2 separate regions of the Homo sapiens genome follow, and region 1 is linked to region 2. Evidence: promoter capture Hi-C in human tissues and cell types (Jung and others, 2019). All regions are on one chromosome and are shown on one strand. Each heading gives the region's core, a stretch centred on a gene start or on the middle of the fragment in contact. The rest is flanking DNA. Distances are from core to core; before and after follow the strand shown. Region 1 holds the start of RECQL4 (RecQ like helicase 4). Region 2 holds the start of ZNF7 (zinc finger protein 7).

Evidence for each region. The method cuts DNA at HindIII sites, captures the fragments that hold promoters and counts their contacts. A contact is called where the count stands out against the background at its distance.
Region 1: the fragment with the promoter of RECQL4 here is called in contact with the fragment with the promoter of ZNF7 in region 2 in 1 of the 25 tissues and cell types used here (dorsolateral prefrontal cortex).

The regions. Positions count from the first base shown.
Region 1 is chr8:144,516,424-144,520,520 of GRCh38, reverse strand. RECQL4 (RecQ like helicase 4) reads left to right here and starts at 2,688. Exons shown (of 21, transcript NM_004260.4): 1 at 2,688-2,820; 2 at 2,886-2,919; 3 at 3,013-3,107; 4 at 3,331-3,471; 5 at 3,757-4,097. The coding sequence starts at 2,737. LRRC14 (leucine rich repeat containing 14) reads right to left here and starts at 2,529. Exons shown (of 4, transcript NM_014665.4): 1 at 2,480-2,529; 2 at 467-906; 3 at 1-283. The coding sequence starts at 795. RefSeq lists silencers at 2,074-2,243, 2,334-3,083. The HindIII fragment of the contact is 29,803 bases long and covers 1-4,097 here.
Region 2 is chr8:144,825,484-144,829,955 of GRCh38, reverse strand. ZNF7 (zinc finger protein 7) reads right to left here and starts at 2,396. Exons shown (of 5, transcript NM_003416.4): 1 at 2,347-2,396; 2 at 866-913; 3 at 352-478. The coding sequence starts at 868. It overlaps LOC100130027 (a long non-coding RNA gene), which reads left to right and starts at 2,916. Exons shown (of 5, transcript NR_147501.1): 1 at 2,916-4,472. RefSeq lists enhancers at 1,167-1,692, 1,693-2,218, 2,219-2,744 and a silencer at 2,076-3,205. The HindIII fragment of the contact is 13,991 bases long and covers 1-4,472 here.

The sequences.
Region 1 (4,097 bases), core at 1,439-3,938, 310 kb after region 2:
GTCCTCAGCTCGCAGGTCCCGGCAGCAGAGCCGCAGCGGGCTGCCCACGCTGCTTCGGAGTGCCTCCCGCAGGAACGCATAGGAGGCCCGGTTCACCCGCAGGTCCACGCGCACCTCCACGGGGATGGGGGCTGGCCCAGGCTCTGCGGCCCCACCCTGCTGCTGGGCAATGCATGTGCGAGCTACGGCAGCAGTACAGTCCCACATGCTCATGGTGCCAGGATCCTGTTCCACACCATCATCCAAGAGGCCCGTCATGTCCAGCACCCGCAGCGCATGCTTCCTGGGAGTAGGAATGGTGTGAGGAAGGGGTGGAGGGGCAGCGCCCATACCCCCTCCCAGCCACCTTGGGACAGGAGCAACGCGCCTGCTCCTGCATGAGCTCTTGCTAACTTTATGACCCAAGCCTCCTCAGGGGACCCACTTACACACCCCTGGCCTGACGACCCTCCAGATAAGTCCATACCTGCAGAGGGGCTGTGTGCTGGCCCCAGGCTCTGAGGTGTGGAGCCGGGCAGTCAGCCCCAGGATAACAGCCTGCATGCTCTCAGTGCTAGGCCGCTCCTGCAGGAGGGCACGGCTGCAGTGGGCACACTCCTGTAGCAGCTGCTGGAAACTGAGCAGCGGGAAGGGCCACGTGTGTACCAACTCGCGCAGTACCACTGTCTTCTTGTCCATGAAGGCCACCTTGAACAGCAGGGGGAAGAGTTCGCGTGGCAGCAAGGGCAGGGCCTGGCAGGCAGCTGGCTGGCACTGCAGCACCTGCCGTGTGCTCAAGAACACAAGCGTGTGCATGGTGCTGGGCCGGGCAGACGGCCACCTGCAGGAGAGGGACTTCAGCAGGGAGGAGAGACCCTAGGCCACTACCAAGCCACACACAAGTGGTAGGAAGGCCCAGCATAGTGCCTGAAACAAAGTCAGCAGTTAGCAGTGGCCATGGCACAGAGAAGCACCTATTAGATGCCTAGCGCTGGGCTGGGTGCAGTGAACTGGCAGACAAACTCACAACTCAGCCCCAGCCCTCCAGATGCACAGGATCTCTTTAGAGAAACTAAGCGTCAAGCAGTGTGGCATCGTCAACAACTCGCTTGCTTGGGTATGCTTTTGACAGATGCCTGTTGCCTTGCAGGGCCCCCCATGGGTACTTCAGGCCTCTCAAATTACAAAGCTGCTTCACAAAACCTTCTTCGAAACCTGAATAAAGCCCAGGACTCTCCCCACCAACCTTCATCAGCATTAGTATTGACGGGACACTCTAAGGAGTCAAGCAGCCAAATCACCTTTCCCTCCCCTCTCCTCACAGATGCTCTCCAGGGCTACACTTGGACTCCACAAAACACCAAAGAGCTGGAAGCACAGAAGCAGCTTCATAAGCAACAAGGCAGGTTGAAAAGACCGAGACCCAGGGAACACCGAGTCCAGATGATGTAGCCTATAAAATACAAGCCCCCGCAAAAGCTACTATTCTCCAGAGCGTCACCAAGCACGGAGACCCCGAAAGAAAGCAACCCTCACCTTTGTTGGCCCTTACCACTGGCCTAAACCTCTCCCTCTTCCCTGGAGAGCCACTGTGGAAAGACCAAGTCTTAAGTATGTGGGATTCAGAAGGTGCAAAGCTACAGACTGCTCAGACAAGGCAAAGAAAGCTGCCTCAGCAGCACCCAAGCTGCAGAGATGCACAAACACTCCCAAGGCCACAAGGTACCTGTGACACAGGGTGCCAGCCCTGCTGCTGCCTGTAGCATCCTCAAAACTAAATCGCAGCCATCTCCCTGTGACAGATTAGAAAATGAAGGCCTCGGCCTGGCCCAAGGTCACAGCCTGAGTGACAAGCCAGGGAAGGGGGCCGGGGAAGACACTCTGGCCCCAAGGCCCTTCTTTTTGTCGACTTTTCCACATACAAGTAAGTCCTTAAGGCACCGGTTCCTGAAAAGTCCCAGACACCAACCCTCGGCCTAGTTCTGCCGGTGGACAGATCTCAACGATCATACTCGCTCTGACAGGACAGACCAACCGAGCACTTGTCACGGGAGAACACCAAAGCAGACGGCCTGCCCACCAAGGGAGGCAGGCACCTCCGTGCGACGCCCCCTCCCCTCCCGCCGGCCGCAGGGAACGCGACGGTCCTCGGTCGCCTGCGTTTCGCGAAGACGCCCCCGCCCGGCTCCTCCGGGCCTCGAGCCGCGGGAGGCGCTGGACCCTCCGCTCTTTCGCCTCCCGAGCGGGGCCTGCTCCTCCAGGTCGGATGCGTCTCCCACCAGGGCCTGACGCCGCTCCGACCGGCCCGGGGACTCCCAGTCCTTCCCGGCCCGCGGTGGCACCTCCCAGGCTCCCGGCCTCGGCCCCGGGCTCCCAAATGCAGCCACTGCCTCCCTCGGCCAGGCCGCCCCGAGCGACCGGTGCCCCGCCCCTTGAGGCCAGGCAGGGCCAGGGGCGTGCGCCGCCCCGCTCAGACACCCCCCCGGCCGCCCGCGCTCACCGGTCCCGCAACCGCAGCCACCGCCTCCAGCCCCGCCTAGACCGTCCGCCGCTCCCCGCCCGGCGCCGCGGCGCCCCGCGATGACGTTGACGCCTCCCATTGGCTGCTTGTCCGAGGCCCGACGGACTGGCTGCCCAGGGGCGGTGGCCCCGCCCCCGGCCCGCCGCGCATCCGCATTGGCTGTCGGCCCCCGCGACGGCTGCGCGGGAGATTCGCTGGACGATCGCAAGCGCGGAGGCCGGGCGGGCGCGCGCGCCATGGAGCGGCTGCGGGACGTGCGGGAGCGGCTGCAGGCGTGGGAGCGCGCGTTCCGACGGCAGCGCGGGCGGCGACCGAGCCAGGTGCGGGCTGCCCAGGGGCCGAGGGGCTGAGGGCGCGGCCCGCGGCTGACGCGTTCCCTTTACAGGACGACGTGGAGGCGGCGCCGGAGGAGACCCGCGGTGAGCGCGCGGCGGGGCGGCGGGGGCGAGAAGACACCGGGTCGGCAGGGGCCCAGGCCCCACCCTGACCCCGCCTCCCGCTCGCCCACGCAGCGCTCTACCGGGAATACCGCACTCTGAAGCGTACCACGGGCCAGGCCGGCGGCGGGCTCCGCAGCTCCGAGTCGCTCCCCGCGGCGGCCGAAGAGGTACCCAGGCCCCGCCGCCCCAGCCTCCTCCCACTTCCCTGTTTGGCGGAGTGGCGGGAGCCACGGAGTCGCGGCCAGGCCGCCGTGGGGCACAGAACTTGGGAGGGGGACTGGGCAAAGTGAAGAAGGGCCGGGCCTCGCTCCAGGTGCGGGAGGGGTGGCTGGGAGCGCTTCTGCCGCCACAACAGCCTTTTCTGGCCTGTGCCCCTGTTGTCTCCTGCAGGCGCCAGAGCCCCGCTGCTGGGGGCCCCATCTGAATCGGGCTGCGACCAAGAGTCCACAGTCTACGCCAGGGCGGAGCCGCCAGGGCTCGGTGCCGGACTACGGGCAGCGGCTCAAGGCCAATCTGAAAGGCACCCTGCAGGTGAGGAGTGGGCAGGCAGTGAGTCCACGCTAGGTCCACAGCTGCTTCCGGTCCGGGTCGCCCTCTTGTCATTTTTTCCACACAGACAGGCACGGGCCCCTGTGCCAACCAGGGCACGAGTCTTCAGGGAGCTTCTCGGGGCCTTCGCCCTTGACTCCCTTTCTAGTCCAGCCTTGTGCTAATTAGCCTGCTCTACAATTGAGCGTGGGGACTCAGGTAGGTTTTAGAGTCTACAGTAGCTCAGGGGCCTGAGTTCCTCCTGCTGTTCTGTTGTTCCCCTCCCAGGCCGGACCAGCCCTGGGCCGCAGACCGTGGCCTCTAGGAAGAGCCTCATCTAAGGCATCCACCCCAAAGCCCCCAGGTACAGGGCCTGTCCCCTCCTTTGCAGAAAAAGTCAGTGATGAGCCTCCACAGCTCCCTGAGCCCCAGCCAAGGCCAGGCCGGCTCCAGCATCTGCAGGCATCCCTGAGCCAGCGGCTGGGCTCCCTAGATCCTGGCTGGTTACAGCGATGTCACAGTGAGGTCCCAGATTTTCTGGGGGCCCCCAAAGCCTGCAGGCCTGATCTAGGCTCAGAGGAATCACAACTTCTGATCCCTGGTGAGTCGGCTGTCCTTGGTCCTGGTGC
Region 2 (4,472 bases), core at 1,147-3,646:
CTGCCACCTCTTGCTCGTTGCACAACCTTTTCCTTGGATTTCTCCACCCAATAATTTCTCTTTTCTTGTCTAAGCTATTTCAAGTTTGGATTCTATTTCTCACAATTTAACAGCTTAGGAAAAAAAGAGGCTTTACTAACTCCCAGAATCCCACCCACTCCCTGGGGGCTGAACCCCATGACATGGGCAAAGCTAGGAACCAGCCTGGCACACCACTCATGAGTCCAAGCCCCCTGTGGAGCCCACAAGGGTCTGAGCGTTTGGCCTGCATACCCCAGCCTCTGATGGAGGCCTGGCTGGGTGGGTGCTGACTGATGATGCAGGGGAAGGGGCCCCAAGGTGCAGCCTCACCTAGTCCAGCCACACTGCTGTGGTTCTCCAGCATCACTTCCCTGTAGAGGGCCCTCTGGCCAGGGTCCAGACACTGCCACTCCTCCCGAGAGAAGTGCACAGCCACATCGCCAAATGTTACCACCTCCTGAAAGGACACACACCAGCACCCCAGGAATCCCTGGGTGCCAGCCCCCTTCTGGCGCTGCCTCATGACATGTCTCAGGCAGCTGCCCCATGGGGTTGGGCGAGACGCTCACCAGGACTCCTCTGCCTCTAATATTCTGGGGAGGGGCAGTCTCGGGGAGGAGGAAGGAACCCAGTCCATGGTGGTCATACAACCCTCCCCCCTCAAGAGCCTCAATTAGGCCCTGGTTTGGGCAGGGGTTTGCTCACTACCTTGGGGTTGGGGGCAAGGGGGCCTTCCTAAGCCCAGCAAGGGCCAAGGTAGGGTCTGGGCCCAGGGCCAGTGGGCAGAGCAGGAGGTGGGCCTTCACAGGACATGCGAGGGGAAGGAGGCAGTCAAGCTTCCTACCATGAGGCTCAGTGGTGGGTGGGCATCCACGTGTTCTGGCCGAGAGACCTGTTGGCAATTATGAAAGGATTAGAGGTCAAGGTGCCAGAAGCCCAACTTCCAGGCTAATCAAGGGGGTACTGTGCTCTCTGCTCCTTTACCTCCAGCCCCAGATTTCTCTAGCAGGGACATGGGGCTGGGCTGAAGCAGCCATGGCACTTGAGTGAAGGAGGCCCACTGAACTCTTGTTCCTCTTTAGAGTGTATGTGTGTGTGGCATGTGTGACTCACTCCACAAAGCCGTAAGAAGTGGATGCCACGTGCCAGGCACTGAGTAATGGGGATACAGTAGTGGACACGAGGACCCTGCCTTCACGAAGCAGTCTGGCGGAGGAAAGAGTTAAATAACCACACAAATAAGCACACTGCAACCACGACAGCGCTCAAGTACAGGGAACTATGAAAGCCACTTAGACTAGAACGTTCAGTGTAATGGGTCACTTCCCCAGGGACCTCGGCCAAGGTAATGGAGGTGGAGAGAGCACTCCAGGCAGCAGGAATAGCATGTGAAAGGGCCTGAAGCAAGAAGAAATGGGGTTGGATGAACCAGTGTGGGTAAATTCCCGGCAGCAAGGGAAGGCAGTGAGCGACTGGAGGTTGGGGAAGGCAGTGAGCGACTGGAGGTTGGAGAAGGCAGGAGCAAAAATGACAAACTGTAGGGAAGACAAGAGTGGACATGGAAACCCCTGCCCTCAAGTACATAAATTCCAGTCTCCAGCTCACCTGTCGCCAGGATGGAACCAGGCACAGGGATGTAATCTGATATAAATCGTTCACCTCAATTAAGCCAATGACCCCAGACCCTCTACCTGCCCAGGCATTCCCCCGGGAGGTCGGAATGGGAAAAAGAGTCTTCGTATGGCAGCTTCTGGCCCAGAAAGTGGTTTGTGGGTGGAAGCCCCAGGTCACCGGCACAGGTAGGCTGATCCCCCCACCTGGCTCCTGACAGTAGGAATGCCCGGAATAGCAACCAGAATTTAGAGAAGACAAACAGCCTACCCCACCCAAGGCACCGTTCCTTCCTCCACTGTCACTTATCCTAGGCCTTCCGGGGCAATAAATAGAAAGAGAAAAGGCTCTAGAAGGAGGTGATTTCGCAGGAGGAGTCAGGGCCCCGGGAGTAGACCCAGGCCTGAAGAAAAGGCCGCAGCTGGAGCTCGCCTTACTCAGGCCCCGGACACCGTGGCCGCCACGAGCGGGGTCTGCGGGGAGCTGCGAGACTCGGCCAAACGAAGCCCACCTCGCGCCGCCGCGGGGGAGGGTGGCTGGGCTCGACCACCTCCCACACCAGGCGCTCAAGGCCCCGCAAAGCCCCCGCGCTTTCCCGCCTGGAGGCCCGGGGGACGCGGGGACCCCAATGCCGAAGGCGGGAGGGCTAAGGAAGCGACCAGGGATCACTCGGACCGAGGGCAACCCGAGTCCGCGCCCGCCGCGCCGACTCACCCTCCCTGAGGACCACCCGAGGCTCGCAAACGCGCGACGCCGCCGGAAACGGGCCTTGGCCACCCGCGTCCGCCCCGCCCCGCAAACTTCCGGCCGCCCTGGGCCGCTCGGAGGCCCGGCCATCTCTGTGGTTCTCAGCCCCGCCTCCCAGGCTCCGGAGAAGGGGTGGAGTCAGAGCCGAGGAGGGGCGAGGCTGGGGCCCGAGGGACAAGAACCTGGGCGGGACCAGAAGCCCAGATAGGCGGGGCTGGCGCCTGGGGGCGGGGTACAGTCAGAGGCGGGCAGGGGGCGGAGCCGCGAGGGAGAGGAGGGCCCAGAGCCCGGAGTGGGCGGTGCCTGAGCAGGGGCGGGGCGGGGCCGGGGCCTGGAGCTGGGGACGCGGGCCGGGGCCGGGAGTTGCGGACTCGCTGGCGGGTGGGAGGAGCGGAGTCGGGGCGAGGCTGGCGGAGATCCAGGGGATCGCCCGGTTGGGCCCTGCGCACCCCGGATCACCAGCTTCGGGCGCTGGTTCCCACCGAGGCTGTTCAGGCGCCGCTCCCCCGCGTCCCTGCGACAGGAGGCGCCTGCTGGGCGCGCTATGGACCCCGCCTCGCGGAGACGCCTGGCTCGGGCCTTGTCCCCAGTGAGCGGCTGGAGCGGCCGCGGGGTCGCAGAGCCTCCGGGACCCCGAGGAAGGGCGCCCCTCGGAGTTGCCCGAGGCCGGGCCCGGCGTCCACTCGCCACTCGCCTCGCCCCTCCCCGGCCCCGCACCGCCCTCCACCCCGCCTCCTTCGGGTTCCTTCTGCGTCCGGCAGAGCCTGCGCGCCTCCCCCGGACGGCCACGGACTCGCAGCCTCGGCGAGGACGCTGCCTGCGTCCCGACTGCCTGGACCTCCCCGCGTGGCTCCCGGCGAAGCCCAGCAGCCGGAGGGTGCCAGGTCCGCCTGACGCGCCCCTCCCCACGGGAAGAACGGGGCGGGGGTCCAGGAGGGACGTAAGCCGGGCTCCCCCGGCGTGTTGATCCGAACCCGCGCGGGAAAACTTGCGCAAACCAAAGGAGGGAAGAGTCAGGCAGCCCCCAGCCCCCCAGGGAGGCCCAGGTGAAAAACAGACGCCGGCCTCGCCTCTCCCGGTGCGGATGATCCCGGCACTCCCACCCCCGCCCCTGCTGCCCCGAGTTCGGCTCCCTCAGCCCCACATCCTCTCTGGTCATCTAAGTGGACTGCAGCTGCTCAGGGAGCATGTCGCGAAGGATAGGGAAGGACAGGGGGTCTGCTTCCCCAGCCGCCCTCCAGACCCCCAGGGCTGGTAGGGGCCGGCAACCCTATGCCCCAACCTGGCCTGCTGCAGGTGAGGGGGGCACACCAGGGTAACACAGGAGCAGGAGGGGGAGAAAGCCTGGCTAGAGCATCCACCTCATAGGCACCTTCCTTGTGTCCAGGGTGCAGATGCCAGGGCTCTGAGGCCCTGAGGTCCTGTCTGGGGCGAGGGGGCTTCCTCCATCCACTGCATCCACTGCCCGGCTGAGTCTAGAGGCCACTGAGCAAGCAGACCCTCCAAAGCCAGGCACACTCAGGCCCTCACATGGTCACGGTGCTTATGCTCTGGGCCAGCCTGGATTGCTCATCCCTAGCTGAGATTGGGATTCACAGGGTCTTCCAGTTCCCCCTTTTCTTTCTCTACTGATTGAGAAACACAGAGTCCTTTGATTGCTCTGGGACCTGGCCATTGCGTGTTCCCTGCAGCCTTGAACCCAGTTCAATGGGGCCGGGCACATTCCCTGATAAAGCTGTTTAGGTTGCTTGAAAACACAATCAACCCTATTGCTAAACACGTAGAAACTGGCCCTGCCCTGAGTCCAATCCCTTAAACTCTCATCTAAGCTCCATAGCCAGAGTCCCTTGCTGCAAATGTACCTGGGTGGAGCATCCCTTGCCTCATCATCGATCCCAAGAAAGCTGAAGCTCCATGTGAAAATTTCCGGAAGAAATGCTCTGGACTGATCACCCTGGCGTTTAGAGCTTCTTTCCTTGGAATCCCAACCAATTCCATCGCGGGACTGTTTGGGGAAGTCTTTTGAGGCAACTCCCTTGCTGCCACTTTTGGGGCAACTCTAGCCTCCTCATATTTGGCCAGATAGAACAGTT